7 separate regions of the Homo sapiens genome follow, and all the other regions are linked to region 7. Evidence: promoter capture Hi-C in 16 types of primary human blood cells and fetal thymus (Javierre and others, 2016). All regions are on one chromosome and are shown on one strand. Each heading gives the region's core, a stretch centred on a gene start or on the middle of the fragment in contact. The rest is flanking DNA. Distances are from core to core; before and after follow the strand shown.

Evidence for each region. The method cuts DNA at HindIII sites, captures the fragments that hold promoters and counts their contacts. A CHiCAGO score of 5 or more calls a contact.
Region 1: a fragment that was not itself captured here is called in contact with the fragment with the promoter of DDX60 in region 7 in 4 of 17 cell types (total CD4 T cells, naive CD4 T cells, naive CD8 T cells and 1 more); the score reaches 7.7 in total CD4 T cells.
Region 2: a contact is called between a fragment that was not itself captured here and the fragment with the promoter of DDX60 in region 7, in 4 of 17 cell types (activated CD4 T cells, total CD8 T cells, non-activated CD4 T cells and 1 more). The highest score is 9.8, in activated CD4 T cells.
Region 3: a fragment that was not itself captured here is called in contact with the fragment with the promoter of DDX60 in region 7 in 7 of 17 cell types (total CD4 T cells, naive CD4 T cells, non-activated CD4 T cells and 4 more); the score reaches 8.0 in total CD4 T cells.
Region 4: a contact is called between a fragment that was not itself captured here and the fragment with the promoter of DDX60 in region 7, in 7 of 17 cell types (naive CD8 T cells, activated CD4 T cells, naive CD4 T cells and 4 more). The highest score is 12.6, in naive CD8 T cells.
Region 5: a fragment that was not itself captured here is called in contact with the fragment with the promoter of DDX60 in region 7 in 1 of 17 cell types (non-activated CD4 T cells); the score reaches 5.2 in non-activated CD4 T cells.
Region 6: a fragment that was not itself captured here is called in contact with the fragment with the promoter of DDX60 in region 7 in 4 of 17 cell types (total CD4 T cells, activated CD4 T cells, naive CD4 T cells and 1 more); the score reaches 7.7 in total CD4 T cells.

What each region holds. Positions count from the first base shown.
Region 1 is chr4:169,716,606-169,719,449 of GRCh38, forward strand. The region is part of intron 12 of CLCN3 (chloride voltage-gated channel 3); the gene reads left to right. Among named protein-coding and RNA genes, the nearest start is that of HPF1, 40 kb to the right of the region's middle. The HindIII fragment of the contact is 5,857 bases long and covers 1-2,844 here.
Region 2 is chr4:169,765,569-169,768,399 of GRCh38, forward strand. No RefSeq gene overlaps it. Among named protein-coding and RNA genes, the nearest start is that of HPF1, 9.0 kb to the left of the region's middle. The HindIII fragment of the contact is 1,359 bases long and covers 653-2,011 here.
Region 3 is chr4:169,588,811-169,591,671 of GRCh38, forward strand. It overlaps NEK1 (NIMA related kinase 1), which reads right to left. Exons shown (of 36, transcript NM_001199397.3): 6 at 1,916-1,999; 7 at 637-704. Among named protein-coding and RNA genes, the nearest start is that of NEK1, 22 kb to the right of the region's middle. The HindIII fragment of the contact is 5,060 bases long and covers 1-2,861 here.
Region 4 is chr4:169,631,780-169,634,588 of GRCh38, forward strand. All of the region lies in intron 1 of CLCN3 (chloride voltage-gated channel 3), which reads left to right. Among named protein-coding and RNA genes, the nearest start is that of CLCN3, 13 kb to the left of the region's middle. The HindIII fragment of the contact is 6,464 bases long and covers 1-2,809 here.
Region 5 is chr4:169,740,930-169,743,821 of GRCh38, forward strand. It overlaps HPF1 (histone PARylation factor 1), which reads right to left. Exons shown (of 8, transcript NM_017867.3): 5 at 1,028-1,178. Among named protein-coding and RNA genes, the nearest start is that of HPF1, 16 kb to the right of the region's middle. The HindIII fragment of the contact is 2,572 bases long and covers 54-2,625 here.
Region 6 is chr4:169,662,104-169,664,991 of GRCh38, forward strand. All of the region lies in intron 2 of CLCN3 (chloride voltage-gated channel 3), which reads left to right. Among named protein-coding and RNA genes, the nearest start is that of CLCN3, 43 kb to the left of the region's middle. RefSeq lists a silencer at 1,835-2,129. The HindIII fragment of the contact is 1,603 bases long and covers 626-2,228 here.
Region 7 is chr4:168,317,339-168,320,405 of GRCh38, forward strand. DDX60 (DExD/H-box helicase 60) reads right to left here and starts at 1,414. Exons shown (of 38, transcript NM_017631.6): 1 at 1,284-1,414. RefSeq lists an enhancer at 1,348-1,677. The HindIII fragment of the contact is 2,588 bases long and covers 903-3,067 here.

The DNA of each region.
Region 1 (2,844 bases), core at 43-2,542, 1.4 Mb after region 7:
TTGGAGGGGGAAGTTGCTCCCATGCTCTGAGAACTTTTAAGGATCGATACATTATTTTTAACATAATAATGAGAAAACATGAGCAGAGAACCCATTTCTGTCATTCCCATTCTCTATCCTCCTGCTCCCCCACCTCCCACCCCAGCCATCAAGCTAAGTAACTATTTTACACCTGGACGTAGCTATAGGAACAGGCTACTTTGAAGTCTCCTAGTGACATCCTTCAAGTCTGAATGTTCAAAGGCAGTTTAACAGGGAGGTTGACTTAATGAGATCATCAAGGAAATGTCCAGTCATCCTGAAGGGTATTTTGGATGGGCTTCCAGAATTTAAAGATTAAAGTTTTTTTAAGGTTTTTTTATTTTCACTGTTTATATTGCCACATTAATTTCCATTATAAAACCAGTAACCATAGTTTTGTTTTAATTAGCAATCTAATTATTTTCATGTATCCTCATTATGAGAATTTATGTCCATCACTTTGCTTGATGTGATAACAGTGACATGCTAAATGAGAAACAATTGTTATTTAGAAAAAAATGCACAAAGTGAAAGTCCTTTTAATCCCTAATCATAAATACATTTTATTAGCTTACTTTAAGAAGTGGCAGTCACAGCTCCTGAACATTAGGGAGTGTTTCTTTTGGTCAGCATTATTTATTTAGTGCACATTGCCTTTAATTTTAATTTGAAATTATAGTAAAATCCACGGGAGTTTTTAAGTCTCCTCACAGCCTTTTGCTACCTTTTCACCAAGGTAGATCCAGATGATAACTGCTGTGTTGTGACATCATAGAAATTAGAAAAATATTTTCCTCTGAGGAAAGAACATTGTAAATGAAACTCTACATATCAGAGGTCTATAGCTATGTATCAATATTAAGTTTCTTTTGTACTTTGCTTTGTAGTCATCTTCATTCCAAACTTTCATAATTATTATTTTTACTTTAAAAAGAAAAATAACCCACCAATATTGAAGATTAGTATTGTGTCACTTTTGAAAGTCAGTAGAATTTATGCAAAAGGAACCTGGAACTTTAAATCATTTTGTTTTTATTTTCTAAAGTTCATGAGACTCATTCTTATGGTTCATGTTTTTATTTTTTCTCTCATTCTTTATCATTATGATTGGAAACTCTTTTAATTTAATTTCTCACACAGTTATTAGCATAATAATCTGTTTCAGGATTGTCTTGGGGATCATCACAAAGAAGAACATATTAGAGCATCTCGAGCAACTAAAGCAGCACGTCGAACCCTTGGTGATTAGATATATCAGATCTCCTCATTAGACACCTTAGAAGTCAGGAAGCATGAAACTTGTGAACTGTTGAGTTCTGTCTTTCCCAGATATCTGCTGAACAAAAATATCCTACTATGCTGCCAATTACATTTGTATCTGATAAAATGTGTCTGTAAGATAAATTTAGATATGTGTAAAATCCCATTTATAGAAAGTAAGCAAAAGTTAACATCTCTCATCAAATCATTCATTACAATTTCAGAACTGTAAACAGTTTGGTAGTGGAATAAGTGAATATTATTGGACATTCTTAAAGTGAATATGGCAAATCTGTCTACCTCAGTGGATACACCGGTCTCAGAAGACACCTGACTGGTTAAAAATGTCTGACCCATCCCCGCAAGCCCTTTTTTTTTTTTTTAAATGTTTCCCGATCTTGTGGTAGTCTTATGGTAAATCTAAGCTCCTAAAGGATTTTAAAGGAGCTTAGCAATTAGAACTGCTTACAGTTAAATGGATTTTTTAATGGGCACACTAACTAGAGTGTAATGTGTATATTATTTGTGATCATAGCATTAGTTCTTTTTCTGCTATACCCTGCATATCTTCAAAGTCACAGTGTGTGTCCTGCCATCTCATTAGTGAATTGTACCTAGATTATGTGTGTGCCCCTTTTGTATGATGTTTCTGGAACGCTATAAGCAGCTTTTAGAGTCAAATGCATTCATTTTAACTGGCTTTATGTCCTAGTGGTTTCATGACTACAAATTTGAATTATCTTACTGCATAACATAAAAAATGTCTGGCTTTAGCAATTAATGCCCGAAATTATTTTGCCCTGCAATTGTCATACCTGTATGAAACCTGTCCCAGTTTGCTTAAGTGCACAACTGATTATGTATTCCTGTGTGTATGCTAATATTTCACAAGTGTTTCATGCATCCTTTTTTAAAAAACTACTAACCAGAATATTATCGTAGCTACTCATTCATTCTGCTTTCTGCTTCACCTATAATAATCTTTTAGGACTGCCTTCTGATTTTTCACCTATCTTTTAATGTAAGCATTAACAACTAAGACTTTCATAAAAGCACTGTATCTTAACTTTCCTGGCCTAAATCAAAAAAAGGAAAACATTGATAAGTGTCCTAGAAACTTGGATTCTTTTATAGATTTGTTCTTGGGGCTCTGATGTTTGGGATTGACGTTCTGTGCTGACCATTTTATATGCATTTTATCTTAATAGTATGTGCTTTCATGAAGATTCTGATACAAGTGGGCAATCCTTAAATTATCTTTGAAAAATTGGTTAATTTTGGTTAAAAAAGGGAAAGTGGCTGGGTGCAGTGGCTCACGCCTGTAATCCCCAGCACTTTGGGAGGCCGGGACGGGTGGATCACAAGGTCAGGAGTTGAAGCCCATTCTGGCCAACATGGTGAAACCCTGTCTCTACTGAAAATAATTGGGGCATGGTGGCACATGCCTGTAATCCCAGCTACTTGGGAAGCTGAGGCAGGAGAATTGCTTGAACCGGGGACCCAGGAGGCGGAGGTTGCAGTGAGCTGAGATCGCGCCACTGCACTCCAGCCTGGGCTACAGAG
Region 2 (2,831 bases), core at 82-2,581, 1.4 Mb after region 7:
CACTTGAACCTGAGAAGCAGAGGCTGCAGTGAGCCGAGATCCCACCACTGCACTCCAGCCTGGGCAACAGAGCAAGACTCTGTCTCAAAAAAAAAAAAAAAAAGAGAATATTTTTACAAGTTTTTTCTTTTTTTTTCAATCTTTGTGCACTTTGAAGGCCATAGATGTCATAGCTAGCTTCTTAAGCATTTCTTTCTGCCTTTGTTATGAGAGCTGCTGAAAATTAAAGACAAGACAAGATGCCACTTAGGATCCCAGGACTTGAGAGTGTAGCCAGACATTCAGCATTAACGTGTATTCAGGGCAGAATAACCACATAGAGCAGCACATGTGTAAGGAATTACAGGCTTATCCAATTGAATTTCTAAGGTTCTAAATGATGGAAGTCATTCACTCTGGCAGTCAGGATTGAGCTGAGTCCTGTGACTCACGCTGTTGGCCAACCCTGGAGGATAAATCAGCTTTGAGAAGGCCCAGAGCCCCCATAGCCTTATGATTCTGATTCCCAAATAGGCTGTAAAATAGGACTTCTTTTAGGGGCTATTCATAGCAGGGGGACCTAATTTGGGAGATATGGGTGATTGTATTGCAGAAGAAACAGATTTGGGAAGGATAAACTTTTTTTCTAATTTGCTGTATAAAAGTTAGCAGAAGCTTCAGGCAGAGCTGATCCTAGACAATTGTTATTGATGGGCTGCAAATGAGCTGTAGCATTAATCTTTGACACTGCACTCTTGGCCTTACCTTTGGCCACTTTGACTCTGGCAAATTATACAGCTAAATGGTGGTGAAACTGGTCTGCCCAATTATGCTTAATCCAGATCAGTTACTCTGGGACCATGTAACCCTTAATTAGCACTAGTTGGATGATCCAAACACATCTTTGAAAGGCCCCAGAGGTTCTCCAGTCTTCATATTTACAGTGGATGAAAATTCCAGCTGATTCGCCAATTCTTTTCCTACCACAATTTCTTAGAATCTAGCTCTGAGCACAAACTGGCACATAATGGGTGCTCAGTAAATATTAATTGGCTTATCGACCTCTTTAATGAATAGCAGTCACCATCATTAAATAGTTACTTGCCCATCCTTTCATCCATTCAGTTATTTGTTCATTCAGAACATTTATTAAGTCCCAATTATGTGTCAGAACTATGTTAGGCACTGAAAAGACCAAGATGACACAGTTGCTATGTTCCAGGAGCTTATAGTGTACTGAGGAGTCCTATAAATGTACAGTCAGTATTCCTGCTAGTCACATAGAAGCAGTGTAAGAATTATGTAAGTCTTTATCACACTCCAACCTTCCAGACACATTGCTCCAGAGTAGTCTCTTTAAAAGAATTGATCTAATCATTTTACTCTGTGACTATCACAGAGTTGATCAGAGCAAAAATTCTGAACGACTAGTGTTACCACCAGGAAATAAGAAGTGACACAACAAAGGGCGATATGGTAGAGAGCAAGCTCAGGTAATATGAGGAGTTTGCGAGGTGATGTTACAAGGGAACATCAAAAGCAGCAACTGAGATCAAGATTGTGGAAAATAGCCAAGGAAACAGGAGCTGGGAATGTAGGGAGCAGTTACTAGAAGGATCCAACAGGATATTACTATTGAGTAATTGCCTTGTATAAGGTCATTCTCCTCACCTTCCAAGTTATGTGTTTAATTTCTGAATATAAAGTTATACTTAATTTTAGGGCTGGGTGCAGTGGGTTATTCCTGTAATCCCAGCACTTTGGGAGGCTGAGGTGGGAGGATCACTTAAATCCAGGAGTTTGAGACCAGTCTGGGCAACATAGCAAGACCCTGTCTCTATAAAAAGTAGTAATAATTTTAGAAAATTTGAATACTATCTAAAAATAAAAAGAAAATTAATTATATTATGCCACCTAGATGTAGCCTCAGACAATATTTGGTATATTCAGTATTTTTCTACATGTATCTTATTATAGTTTGTTAAATGAAATAATGCTGCACATAAAATTTGGTAATAGGCCTTAAAAAGTAAGCTTAATAACAAATAAACATTGTAAAAATGCTTCATCAATATTTTAATGGCTACATAAATATGCCATTGGACAAATGTTTGATAAAGTAACTGTTCTCGTAGTTATAAGTTTTTACTGTGTGTCATAACTTTTTATTGCTATGTATAACCCTGTGGTCAACATTTTTGTACATAAGGTTTTAAAAAATATTTTGGAATATTACCTTAGTTTAAATTCTTAGAGGAACTGCTGGCTTCACAGACAGGAATAAACTTAGTGTCATAATCCATATTCCCAAATTGCTTTGTAAACAAGGCAGTCTGAAATTGAACAAAACAATGTACCACATTGTGACTACAGTTAAGAATATTGTATTGCATATTTAAAATTTGCTAGGAGGGCAGATCTTACATGTTCTAACCACATACACACACAAAGGTACTGTGTGAGGTGATGCTATGTTAATTAGCTTGATTATGGTGATAATTTCACAAAAATATATGTATATTAAAACATCAAGTTGTACACCTTAACTATATAGAATTTTTATTTGTCAATTATATCTCAATAAGGTGGGGGTGGGGAAGGAGAGTAAAATAAAAACGTTTTAAAATAAATAAATAAACAGAGACAAAATAAAAAGAGCATATGTTATTTTCCCATTGGCATGAGTTAAGGGCACTGCTGCTTGGGAATAACCTACACATGGTAGGATAAAAAAGTCAGGGCTTATCTGATTTATCTCCATTCTACTTGTCTTCAGCCCCTTCAGAGTTATAACCTGAAGGTCAGGTTTTACAAAATGCATTGGACGAAAGATTGGCAAACCCAGGTTCTAG
Region 3 (2,861 bases), core at 290-2,789, 1.3 Mb after region 7:
GCAGATCGCATATATGATGCTGGTCCCATAAGATTATAATGACACTGAAAAATTCCTATCACCTAGTGACACGGTGACTGACATACACTGTAGAGCAATTACTTTATTTTTTAATAAATTTAGTATAGCCGAAGTGTACAGTGTTTATAAACTCTACAGTAGCATACAGAAATGTGCTAGGTCTTCACATTCACTCACCACTCACTCACTCACAGAAAGCAACTTCCAGTCCAGCAAGCTCCATTCATGGTAAGTGTCCCATAAAGGTATATCATGTTTTATCTTTTATATTGTATCTTTTCTATGTTTAAACAAATATATACCATTGTGTTACAATTTCTTACAGTATTCAGTACAGAACATGCTGTACCGGTTTGTAGCCCAGAAACAATAGGCTACACCATACAGCCTGCCTGTGTAGCACACTCTATCATCTAGGTTTGTATAAGTACACTCTATAATATTCACCCACTGACAAAATCACCTAATGATGCCTTTCTCAGAACATGTCCCAATAAAGCAACATCCCAGTAAAGAATGTACTTAAAGATACCATAAATTATCACATATACATCATCATGGATTGAAGGTTCGCTGAAAACATTATATCAAAACAAAGTTTAAAATTCATGTTACCTATTAAGAACTCTAGCAATTCCAAAATCTCCAAGTTGTACTGTTCCATCTTTAGTTAAAAATATGTTCTGTAAAAGACAGGAAAAAAAAAAACCCTAGAAATATTGTTACAGTCCAGTTCTAAGTCAACATTTTTCATAAAATTTAAAATCCAGTTAAAAAAATTGTGCTAGAGTAACTGGATATTCACATACAAAAGAATAAATGAAGTCCCCTACCTCAAATCATAAACAAAAATTAATTCAAAATGGAGTCTAGATCTAAATATCAAAACTAAAATACAAAACTCCTAGAGAAAAACATAGGAATAAATCTTCATGCCATTGGGCTAGGGAATGGTTTCTTAGATATGACGTCAAAAGCACAAGCAAAAAAATTAAAAGGATAAATTGGACTATCAAAATTAAAAACTTTTGTGCATCAAAGGACACCATCAAGAAAAGAGACAATCCATAAAATGAGAGAAAATTTTTACAAATCATATATTTGAGAAAAAACTTTTATCAAGAAAAGGGCTTGCATAACTCAACAATAACAACAAAAAAAACCAAATAGTATGACTTAGAAGTAGGCAAAAGGGGCCAGGCGCAGTGGCTCACACCTGTAATCCCAGCACTTTGGAAGGCTAAGGCAGGCAGATCACTTGAGGTCAGGAGTTCAAGATCAGCCTGGCCAACATGGTGAAACCCCATCTCTACTAAAACTAAAAAAAATTGCCAGGCATGGTGGCAGGTGCCTGCAATCCCAGCTACTCGTTGGTCTGAGGCAGGAGAATCGCTTGAACCTGGGAGGCGGAGGTTGTGGTGAGCCTGAAATCACGCCACTGCACTCCAGCCTGGGCAAAAGAGCGAGACTCCGTCTCAAAAACAATAGATAGACAGACAGACAGACAGACAGACAGACAGGCAAAAGGCACATACTTCATAATACCCATTTATATAAAATGTCCAGAATAGGCCAATCCACACAGACAGAAAGATTAAGGGTTACCAGAGTCTAGGTGGAGAGGAATGGGAACTCACTGCTAATGGGTACGAGGTTCTTTTTGGAGTTATAAAAAATGTTCTGTAAGTTTCAGAGACTGGGAAGGAAAGTAATTTTTAGAGTATGGGAAGCAAGCAGGAGATCTAATACAGGATGCAGATGAATAGGATAAAAAGGAAGAGACAAGACAGATAATCTGATGCACACTAAATCAGGTTCAAAAATTTTTGGCCCAAAACAATGAAGGTTCCATGTCTTTATCCATTCAGAAGTTATCAGTGACAGAATAACATACCTGAGATTTAATGTCTCGATGAAGAATTTTTCTATCATGTACATGTTTCAGGGCCAAACATATCTGTACAAACCAGTCCAAAATCTAGGAAGAAAAATCAGATCTGTCAAGCCTCTCTTTGACCATTAAAAGAATTCAAGAATATTTAGGGATGAGAGGAACTAAATCCTTAAAAAGATATTTTAGGCTACAATTTCTTTTAACTTTGTAGGCACTGACATTAAATAGATATTCAAGTCAACACAAGCTCTGCACATACTAAATCCAAAATGTAAGAGATGTTACTGGGTCATCTCTTATAAATCAAAACAAACATGGAAAGTAACTTTATGAGTGAAAATGCAAATAATTTATATTTTATAATATTAAGACAAACAGGTGATTCTTCTTTGTTTTTAATACATCTTTTTTCTATAACGCCCCCCCCCCACTTCTTTAGGGATAGGGTCTTGCTCTATCACCCAGGCTGGAGTGCAGTCGTGTTATCATAGTTCACTTCAGCCTCAAACTCCTGGGTTTAAATGATCCTCCAGCCTCAGCCTCCGAGGGACTAGGACTATAGGTGCATGCCACCACGAGCAGCTAGTTTTTTATTTTTGTTTTTTTTACAGAGACAGTGTCCCACTATGTTGCCCAGGCTAGTGGTCTTGAACTCCTGGTCTCAGGAGTTCCTGAGATTCAAGTGTTCCTCCTGCCTTGGCCTCCCAAAGTACTGGGATTACAGGTACAAGCCACTGCATCTGACCTCTATAATGCTTTTTAAAAATATAAAAATCACAAAAGGAAAAAAATCAAGCTGGAAATTTGGAAGACATCTCTGACTTTTTTTCTCTTCCCACATTTATTATATATAAACACTCTTCTCTGGAGACGGCCACTTGGAAATAAAAAGGCTTAATTTCTATCTCATTGTTAACATCAAAACAATTCCAAGTACATGGCATTT
Region 4 (2,809 bases), core at 79-2,578, 1.3 Mb after region 7:
GAGACTATTATGAACACATCTGTAAACACGAACTAGAAAATCTAGAGGAAATGGGTAAATTCTGGAAACAGCCTCCCAAGATTAAATCAGGATGAAATTGAAATCCTGAACAGACCAATATCGAGTTCCAAAATGGAATCGGTAATAAAAAATCTACCAACCAGAAAAGCCCTGGACCAGATGTATTCATAGCTGAATTCTATCAGATGTACAAAGAAAGCTGGTACCAATTCTACTGAAACGACTCCAAAAAATGAGGAGGGGCTCCTCCTTAACTCATTCCAGCTTCACCCCGATACCAAAACCTGGCAAAGACACAATGAAAAAGGAAAAGTACAGGTCAATATCCCTGATGAACATAGATGTAAAAACCTTCAACAAAATATTAAGAGAGTGAGTTGTTAAAGAGAAGAGGGTATGATCCAGGCAGAGGGAGCAACAAAGGCCTTGGGGCAGGAGTCAGGAAAGAGCTTGATAGGACTGAGAGATTGAAAGATCAGTGAGTCTAGAGTACTTCAGGAAGTACATACTTCTCAAAGTAAGATATACAACTGGCCAACAAGCATGTGAAAAAATGCTCAACATCACTAATGATTAGCGAAATGGAAATCAAAACCACAGTGAGACACCATCTCACGCCAGTCAGAATGGCTATTAAAAGAAGCTGGGGCCAGGCGCGGTGGCTCAGGCCTGTAATACCAGCAATTTGGGAGGCCGAGGCGGGCGGATCACGAGGTCAGGAGATTGAGACCATGGTGAAACCCCGTCTCTACTAAAAACACAAAAAATTAGCCGGGCGCAGTGGCGGGCGCCTGTAGTCCCAGGTACTCGGGAGGCTGAGGCAGAAGAATGGCCTGAACCCAGGAGGCGGAGTTTGCAGTGAGCAGCGATCGCGCCACTGCACTCCAGCCTGGGTGACAGAGCGAGACTCCATCTCAAAAAAAAAAAAAAAAAAAAAAAAAAGTGCTGGGGAACTAGCAGGGGTTGGGCTGCATAGAACTTTTTCTGCTATATTAAAGAGTTTGTTTCTTAAGGGTAGCAGGAAATGATTAAGAGATGTTAACATGGAATGGAGAGAGATTATGAGCAAACTTACTTTTTGGAAAAAAAAACTGTGCTGGCTGCAGTGTCATCAGATTCGAAGGAAGCAAAATAATTGCACGTAGATAATATAGGAATTTATTAGGTAAACGAGGCCTTATTACTGGAAGTTTTCATAGTTTATCTCTGATTATTATTATTACTTTGTTTGAGACAGAGTCTCACTCTGTTTCCCAGGCTGGAGTGCAGTGGCATAATCTCAGCTCACTGCAACTGCCGCCTCTCTGGCTCAAGCGATTTTCATGCCTCAGGCTCCTTAGTAGCTGGGGTTACAGGCGGCTGCCACCACGCCCGGCTAATTTTTTATTTTTAATAGAGATGGGGTTCACCACCATGGCCAGGTGGGTCTTGAGCTCTTGACCTCAAGCGATCCAGCTGCCTCGGCCTCCCAAAGTGCTGGAACTACAGGCATGCGCCACCACACCCAGCTTATCTCTAATTTTTATAATTTTGTAAGAATATATTTACAAGCTACTGTGTATCTATTACAATGTTTTGAAATGATTATAAGTATATTTTTGGTGATTAAAATGGAAAAGGTGACTTTGCATTATTTTTTTTAAATATGTAAAATTTCATCTGCTGTGTTAGAGTCTAAATAGCCTTTTGTGCCCAAGCCTGGGAATTGGGTTTAGAACCTGAAAATATTTAACACTAGTGTTCAGATTTCCTTCTGTTATATGTCCTTTATGCTACTATAGAAATTTGAATATTTTATAGCAGTGCTGTTCAATAAAAGTGTTAGTGCTGCAAATGCAAGCCACATAGGTAATTTTTAATTTTTCAGTAGCCACATTAAAAAGGTAAAAAGAAAGTGGTGAGATTCATTTCAAATATATTTTATTTAACCCAATGGATCTAAAATATTTCAACATGTAATCAGTATAAAATTTCTAGTCAAATATTTGACATCCTTTTTAAATATTAAGTCTTAGAAATCTGGTAGGTATTTTACACTTAGAGCACATTTCAGTTTGGACCAGCCATGTTTCAATGGCTCGATAGCCGTATGTATGCTGGCTGCTGCATCAGTCAGTACAGCTCTATAGGTTTCTGGGTTAATACGTGGAATAGTTTTTTTTTTTTATCTTAAGTTATCAAATTTATAGAAATAGAAACCCATGCAGGCCTGGGTTTAATTGGTTTATTTGGAGCAGAGTTGCATGCTTGTGTTACAAAGAATGATCTGCAGGCTAGGTGTCTCAAAGGTATTATGAAATTAATTTTTTTAACGGAAATAGTTAAATTTCCAGTTACCACTTACGATTTTTGAGAGACTTTTAGGGATAAAATGGAGGAGATATATTGGAATTTGCTGATTGAAGTATTAACACATAAAAAGGTTTAATGATTTTACAGAGATTTCTTAGTGCTGTGTAGCCTCTAGCTAATGTTCACTGAAATGTTATCATATGTATTAAGCCCTTCTATTCTGTAAAGAAATAAAAACAGAGTGTCTGTGTTCTTCACAAAAATCTTAGCATACATGCTTTGATACATCAAAATTAAATGATTCTTAAGCTATTAATGTTTATGTTTTTAAAAGCCTTTTGGTAATTTTCTCAAAAGCCACATAATATTTAATTTGTTTGCCTCTATGGAACTGCAGATTTCTTAGTATGAACAACTACTTTCATACTTTCCTATTGTTTTAATTAATATACTCTAACAAATCTCATCTCAGTATAATATGCCATCTTTGGTAGCG
Region 5 (2,892 bases), core at 90-2,589, 1.4 Mb after region 7:
TACATTAACTAGGTTACAAATGCTACCCTTCCTCCTAGTCACAAAGTGGAAGAAGCTTCCTGTGATAACCAGAAAGGTAAATGGCAATATAAAATCTTAATATTTAAAATGCCATATTGTAATGGGTTTCATTAAAATGTATGTTTTAAGAAACTTTCCAGTCTATAGGACTAAAGAGTGCCTAGAACTTGATACAAATGTCACCCCTGCAGCTGAATCAAGATCAGAGAAGGAACTGAAGTAGGATTTAATGCCTAAGTACACTAAGGTACTTCATTACCAGTGCTAGTTTATTAAGGAATAGCAAGTTCTCCATTTAGCTTAGAACATTCAGATGAACCAGCATGGGCAGACAAATGGTGAGAGGCTGGAGGAGACTGGGGAGCCCTCATTCCAGTGACAAATTTTTTTTTTGTTTTTGTTTTTTCCCCAGAGGCCATAAGAACAAACTCCTATAGAATTCTCATTTACTCCAAACCAGAAATCTTCCAGCTTGTCATTAACTTACTCTGAAATCTATAGCTGAAAAACCAAAAGAATCCAACATTAACAAGTATTTGCTCCTTTACAAAATACTCCCCTCATATTGCAGACATTAGGAGAGATGCAAAAGGAAATGATAGGATTAATAAGGAAAAAGAAAGGAGCACTGCTTATATACACGTTTACTGGAGAAAATGTATGTATGTAAATTTCATTATGTACAAAGCAGCTTTCACTTAACTTTATGAAGTGATTAAATGGTAAACAAGATTAAAAGAGTGGTAAATACTGGCATGAGTTATTCAACCACAGCAGTGATATCACCAGTTGCGCAATTCAATCAGTGTACCAACCCAAAGGAGCCATCTGACCCCTGTTTCAGTGCCATCCTCTTTCAGTGCCATCCTCCTAACATCCCTAAGGGACAGCATCCAGTTCTTAAGATAGGACTAGGGAAGAGAAGGGTAAAGTAGAGATGGGAAGGAATCAAGAGGGGAAAAAAATATGCTATAGCAAAACAGAGACCAACAGGTTGAAATCATACTTTCTTATCTCTCTGTTTCATCTTCACGGTTCTCTGTTCAAGCGAGTACCCCAATTCTCTGGCTGCTTCTGTGAGTTTTTCATCTATGTTTTTCAAGAGATTGATTTTCTTTTTATCCGTTATTTCTCTAAGTTTTTTCGTCAAAAATAATCTGAAAAAGAAGTAAAAGTCCGCATTATGTGGCAGGCCACTGTACTAAGTACAAAGACCTTTCAAAGTTGAGCCAAGGTAAAAATGTCAAATTCCATACAAGAATAAGTCCACAGAATAATTACCAACACTTCTCTCAAAATCCCTAATAGTTTTCTTCAAATAAGAGAAAAGCAATATTCATAAAAAACTGCCAGTCAGAGAAAGAGCAAATACGATTCAAATTTATATTAGCACTCTAATGTCTACAATAAAGGTATAAGGGGTATTTGCAAAGCTGAGATTAGTCAAGGTTTAAACTGTATCACTTGATACTAAGATATGGCATACTACTTTGGAGAAGTCTGACCTAACAGAAAAAAAAGTAGACATCAAAAAAAAGTAGACATCAAAAAAATTTTTCAGGCAAGGCGCAGTGGCTCACGCCTGTAATCCCAGCACTTTGGGAGGCCAAGGCGGGCGGATCATGAGGTCAGGAGATCAAGACCATCCTGGCTAACAAGGTGAAACCCCGTCTCTACTAAAAATACAAAAAATTAGCCGGGCGTGATGGCGGGCGCCTGTAGTCCCAGCTACTTGGGAGGCTGAGGCAGGAGAACGGCGTGAACCCGGGAGGCAGAGCTTGCAGTGAACCGAGATCGCGCCACTGCACTCCAGCCTGGGCCACAGAGCAAGACTCCGTCTCAAAAAAATATATGTATATATTTTCAGGGACCAGGCATGGTGGTCCATGCCTGTAACCCCAGTACTTTTGGAAGCCGAGGTGGGCGGATCACTCAAGGTCAGGAGTTGGAGACCAACCTGGCCAACATAGTGAAACCCTGTCTCCACCAAAAATACAAAAATTAGCTGGGCATGGTGGCATGCACCTGTATTCACAGCTACCCGGGAGGCTGGGGTACGAGAACCACTTGAACCCGGGAGGTAGAGGTTGCAGCCATCCAGTCAGCCGAGATCGTGCCACTGCACTTCAGCCTAAGACTGCCTCAAAAAAAAAAACAAAAAACTGTCTTTTTTTCCGAGATGTTGTTTCATTCTTGTTGCCCAGGCTGGAGTGCAGTGGCAGGGTCTCAGCTCACTGCAACCTCCACCTCCCAGGTTCAAATGATTCTCCTGACTCAGCCTCCCGAGTAGCTGGGATTACAGGTACATGCCACCACGCCCAGCTAATTTTTGTATTTTTAGTGGAGACAGGGTTTCCTCATGTTGGTCAGGGTGGTCTCGAACTCCTGACCTCAGGTGATCCATCTGCCTTGGCCTCCCAAAGTGCTGGGATTACAGGCGTGAGCCACTGCCCCTGGCCTTTTTTTTTTTTTTTTTTTTTTTTTCATTTTTAAAGAGACAGGACACTATTATAACACTAAAGGTCGATAGATTTTTTTTTTAATGTTGAAGTTTGTGTTAAGAAAAATTTAGAAAACACAAAAGGAAAGCAAAGCTACTTTGTAAGCTTATACAAAAGCATAATCCAAAGTAGTTCTCAAAAGTATGTGAATATATATCATGTTAATGCCACTTATGGAAATAATTTTATATTTTGTCATAAACAGGTTAAGATTTTTGCCATCAATATAAAAGGTCAGGAGTAAAATGAAGAGCGGCAAGAGTGTGCCAGACTTCCAGGAAGAAGGCTGAGGGAGTAACAACTCCTAGGAAGAAACTCACTTCTATTCACTGCCAACATCTGAGAGTTTGTAGTATTCCCTGCAACACTG
Region 6 (2,888 bases), core at 177-2,676, 1.3 Mb after region 7:
AAATAATAAGAAATAAGTCAAAACTTATGTGAGAGTAGGCATGGTTACTGATATTACCTAAACGTAAGCTTTTTATTTCTATTATACTTTCATAAATAATCCTTTAAGAATCTTGCTTAGGATCTAAATCAGTCCCACTCTTGGCAGCTCAAATAGGTTCTTTATCCCTTGATGAGACTTATTCTATTAATATAAGTCATTGTTATTTGAAAGTAACATTGTGTATGTGTAGTAGAGATAAGTCAGTTATTAGGCTTTCGTGACTGTACTGTATTACCTCAAACATACTGTAGTATCCTAGTGTCTATGCGTAAGATGTTATTTTTTGTCCATAATTTATGACCTGTTGTAGCCATGGGTCAACACAATGGAATTGATGGAGACAGGCAGCTAACAAATCGAAAAAACTGAATCAGCTTCCCTGTGAGGAAGAACAAAACTATAATGATTAAAATTGATCTTCAGCCTGATAGTGAAGAGGCAGATAAAGTATAAAATTGTGAAGGATATCAATAAAGTAAACATGGATCTGTTTAGTAAATCCCTGAGTGCTATAGCCAAGGATTACCTTTGTTGAGTAAATTGAATTTAATACTACTTTTCAAGGCGAGATGGTAAATGGTGAAGCTTCCTATTTAAGTAAATAATGTCAAGTCTGGAAGTATAAGTAGATTCAAATTAGAATTAGTTTGATATACTATTGATAGATTAGAAATTAAGATGACATTTCAGAAATAGCCATCTTTAGGGGTAGATTTCCTATATAGAAACAATCAAGCTCTCTCAAAATGTCTCTTCCTTTTTTATCAGGAAAAAAGACTTGGCTTATCTGGACTGTTAGTTTTACACTTTTTCTTCTTAATTTGTTCAAGATGTTTAAGTAGTTTTAGAGGTCAAATTTCTTTCTTCTACCAACCCTTTATAATGGATTTGATCTTTTGGGCCTGAGCCTCCATTTACTCCATGAGGGGCCTTTAACAATTATTTAAATATTTAATTGTTTCATTCAGAGTGAGCATATATGTGTGTGTGTGTGTGTGTGTGTGTATATATATGTGTGTGTGTGCGTATATGTGTATATATATATATACATATACACACACATATGGCACTCCTAGGTGCTGTGGAGAATTATAAAAATAGTAATATTAATAATAGTTAATATTTATTAGAATTTCCTGTTAGCTGGATACTGTCCTAAGTGGGTTTTTTTGTTGTTGTTGTTGTTGTTGTTGTTGTTGTTTTCTTAAGAGAGAGGTATCACTTTTTCACCCAGGCTGGAGTGCAGTGGAGTGATTATAGCAAATGCAGCCTTGAACTACTGGGCTTAGATCCTCCGTCTCACCCTCCTTGGTACCTGGGACTGCAGGCTTGCAACACCTTGCCTGGCTAATTTAAAAAACAAAATTTTTTTTTTTTTTAGGGAGAGTCTCACTATGTTGTCCAGGCTGGTCTCCAACTCCTGGGCTCAAGCAACCCTCCTGCCTTGGCCTCCCAAGTAGCTGAGATTACAGGTGCGAGCCACTGTGCCTGGCTTGTTCTAAGTGCTTTATGTGTATGAAATTATTTAAATCCTCATCACAAGTTTATGAAGTAGGTACTGTTATAATCCCCATTTTCTAGTTGACAAGACTGAGGTAAGGAATTGTTAAGGAAAAGTCAGAATTCCATCCAGATATTTGGCTCATACTTTAATCATGAGGCTAAACTGCTTCTCTCTACACGTATCTTCATAGTAACTTGTGTTTTAAGTCTGGTAGAAGCATAAGAAGTTTAAACACAGACAGAATCCTGTGGAAGTTAGTAAATTTCTAGTGAACGATAGAAATGATAGAAATCTCTTCTTCCCCCAAAGTCCCAAGAACAGATTAGTCTGCTTTTGACAAGTGTTATCAAAGTAGACTGTTCTCACATACACAGGGGACTCAATAGGGCATTCCTGGTGGATATAATAAAATGAGTAAATGCGATAACAGGAGGAAATGCCTAGTGTGTTGCTCTTGGATTAGTTTTGATACAACAAAGGCAGCTTTGTTGTGAGTCAGTAGAGAGGGTAGTGTAGAAAGGTGGAAGTTGGAAGAGTGGCAGATCCTAGAGGACTAATGATGGGCTTAAACCACAAAAAGTGTCGCTTTGCCATTGAAATAAAAGTTTGGGGTCTTATTTTTTCAAGTTTCTCCCTGAAATTATTTCTTGACATTCATTAGCTCAGCAGTGTATCTAAATAAAGCTTTTTTGGGTTTCTATTATAATAGAGGTTTGTTCCTTTTTCTTCCCTTTGAAAAGTATCATTTTTTGCACATTATTTGAAAATCCAGGTGTTATATGATATTCTTATTGCCAGAGGGACATTCTGCAGGCTCTTTGTAAAATGATTTTAGGATTCAGATACTTATTATATTTTTATTGGCCCTAATATTTTATCCAACTAGAAAATTAAACCTCTTCTTAAAAATTAATCCATCTAAGTGTCTGTAAATTAAAGGAACAACTAAAGATTCTTTATTTGGTGTCAGAAACTCCTTGTTTCTACAACAGTAGTATAAAACAAAGCCTGTTTTTAAATGTACTTTTCCCACAGTATCTGAATTTCAAATCTTCAATAAAATCTGGTTCATATTACTACCTCTAGCTTGATTTTCTAAAAATAGCTGACACTTTAGTATGGTTAATTTTATGCCATCTCATGGCTTGTCAGAAATGCTTTGTATCAAGATTTCCGAGTGTGAACAGATTTCCTGCCGCATTGATTAAGTTTGTAATTTTGGCTATTTTCCCAGCATCGAGGTTTCTGCTTTGCGTTTATGCAGGAGACTGGTAGTTTAAATTGAACTTTAAGGTTTTGTTTCTTGTTTTTAAGTTAACATATGTTTAATTTCTAGTTTCTT
Region 7 (3,067 bases), core at 164-2,663:
TCACAGTAGTGTCAGAACCATATTCTGATTCAAACAATCTTAAAAAGGAAGAAGAAAAGAAGAAGGGAGGAAGAGAAATGGAAAAGAGAAAAAAGGAGGGAAGAGGAAAGGCGCAAAGGGGAGGTAAAGAGGAAAAAAATGGGGGCAAGGGAAGGGAAAGGAAATCATGGATTCTGTATTGGAACAGAATGGTGGAGCTACTTGATGAAAGGCATCAAGCTCCTGAAACCCTGCCTGGAGAAGAGCTGGTGGGTTAAAATGGCTTCCAGTACCCGGTATAACCCTCTCCCCTTGAGTGTGGACAGGACCTGTGAATTTAATGGCATAGTCTCTTTAATGATTCGGTTATATTATGTAAGACTTCATCATAGTAGACTCGGGAGATTCCCCCAAAGAGGCTTATACCTTCTTTAAAGGTACCCTATACCTTCTTTAACGGTATAAGCCACCTTGTTGTGAGAAGGCCACTGTAGCTAAGATCTCAGGGTGAAATCTAAAGACATGGGAACCCCCAGCCAACAGCCAGCAAGAAAGCAGGTAACCTCAGTCCTTTAGCTGCAAGAAACTGAATTCTTCCAACAACCTGAATGAGCATCCATGGTGTCCCATGAGGCCACAGCTCTGACACCTTGATTTCAGCTCGATGAGATGCTGAACAGAGAACTCACTTTACCCATGCCTGGGCTTCTGATCCACAGCAATTGTAAAATAATAAACTTGTAATGTTTTAAGCCACTATACCTGCCCCTTGACCAGGAATAAATTAAGTTACTGGAGTAGGAAATAAATTTCTATTGTCTTAAGCCACTGAAATTTAAGGGTGCACAGAAATTACCTGGGGGAATCTTATTAATAAACGCAGATTCTGATTCTACAAGTCTGGAGCAGGGATTGAAGGTGGAAGCTTCTTGCTGCTGTCAATGTACAGGTTTTACTGGCTGTGCTTAGATATGATGTCCCTTAATTTCTCCTCAACCTCCATTACCCAGCTCCCACCTTTGACGGGGACTCCTTAAATGCCTAACTAAGCACTCCTCTCTGTCTCAGACTTCAGGCCTTTCGCGGTTGTCCCTTTCCTCCGCCCCTCCCCACGCCCGGCCTTCCGGGCCAGCAGGGGGCCCGTGCGCCACGGCCTTGCGATCCCAGGAGGTTCCCCAGATTCCCGCGCCCCGAGCCCAGCACTCCTGGGCCACCTCCCTGTCCGGTCCGTTGAAGAAGACCTAGAACTCCCGCTAGACAGCTCCGCCCCAGGCTCTTCCCAAGGGACATCCCCGGCTCCTCACCGCGGACTCAGGACCGGTGGTGTCCAAAGACCCGCGAGCTGCGCGCCCCGCGGGGAGGGAGTGAAACAGAGACCTAGCGCAGAGCCCAGGTGGAAGTTCCAGGTTACCCCAGACCTGGCCTAGGACTCGGCGCTCTGAGCCACCGCAGCCAGTCTTTTATGCATCCGGCGGGAGTTTCGGTTTCCTTTCTCCTCTCAGAAGCACTTAGGTTTCAGTTTCCCTTCAGCACGAATTAGGCGAGGCACTTTCGTGGAAAGTTTAGCATCCTTCCCTTCAATCAGAATCTTAAGAAGGGGAGCATGGCGAGACGTTAGTTAAAAGGTATGAAGTTACAATAGCTAGGAAGAACCAGTTCTGGTATTCTATTCTGCAGTAGGGTGTGTATAGTTAACAATAATGCATATTTCAAAATAGCTAGAAGAGAGAATTTTGAATATTCTCATCACAAAGAAATAGTAAAGTTTTGAGGTAATAGATGGGCTAATTATCCTGATTTGATCATCACACAATGTATACATGTATTGAAACGTCACATTGTACCCCAAAAATATATACAATTATTATGCGTCAATTAAAAATAAAATGAAACTAAAAAAAACCTTAAAAGAGAGAGACAAAGGCAATAAAAATGGGCTTTGGAATTTGGGCATAAATATAGAGTAAATTGAGGCAGAAAAATTTGTAACATCTAAACAAGATAAAATCAAGAAGAGTTAGAATTTAGAAATTGATAAAATGTAAAAGACACTGTGGAATCTGAAACCCCACAATGAAATTGGAGATCTTGCTGCTTCTACTTGTATGCAAAAAGAAAAAAGAAAGTATGTAACAATACATGAACTTTGAGTTTCTGTTATGAGAAGCTGATGATTACTGTTCTGTATAAACTGTAATTGGTACTTTCATGGGCCAAGAATCAACATTAAAAAATAAATTGAAAATGCAGAATGGTCACATTTATTTGTGCCTCAAATTGATGAAATGTTCTCTTAATTTTTGCCTGTTGATACTTGCAGTGTGGGTTTCGATACTCATCTCCTTTCCTTTCAGTGCCCTCGTATGCTTGATTTCATTAATGCTATAAATATGCATTCATATATTGGAAATAGAAGAGGGTGTGGAGGAAAGACAGCAGTGAATTTGGGTAATCAGCATGATAAGAAGCCACAGGCTGCTTTGTCTACAAGGAAAGGAAAGAGCCAAGGTCCAGGCACTGCTCCACAGGGAACACAGAACAGAGAGAGTAGTGAATGATACTTTGTCTTGTGAAAAATTAGAGAGTCAAGTTGTTAAAAGAGGGGGATATGGGGAAGGAGGACATTTCTCACATCCATCAGACAATTACTTGTTTATTCATTTGTTTAGAAATTCACGTGTTTGTTAGTGATGAGATTAAGAAAGAAAATAAAAGACTCTAGAATTTAACACATGATTGGTCTTAAATCAGCCAATATTCCTGTCTCCTTCACTGTGATCTCTGATGTACCTGCCTGGGGTAGGCTGAATAATACCCTGCACTCCTCCCTCCAAAAGAGGCCAAAATCCTAATTCCTGGAACCTATGAATACAGTAACTTTCATAGCAAAAGTAACTTTGCAAAATAGATTAAATAAGAATCTTTAGAAGAGGAGATTACCCCTTACCCGGGATTATCCAGGTGGGCCCAAGGTCATCAGAAGGGCCTTTATAAGAGGGAGACAGGAGTTCGAGGGGCAATGTGATGATAGAAACAGTCAGTGACAGAATGTGGGGACACTACACAGATGGCGTTGAAGACAGTGGAA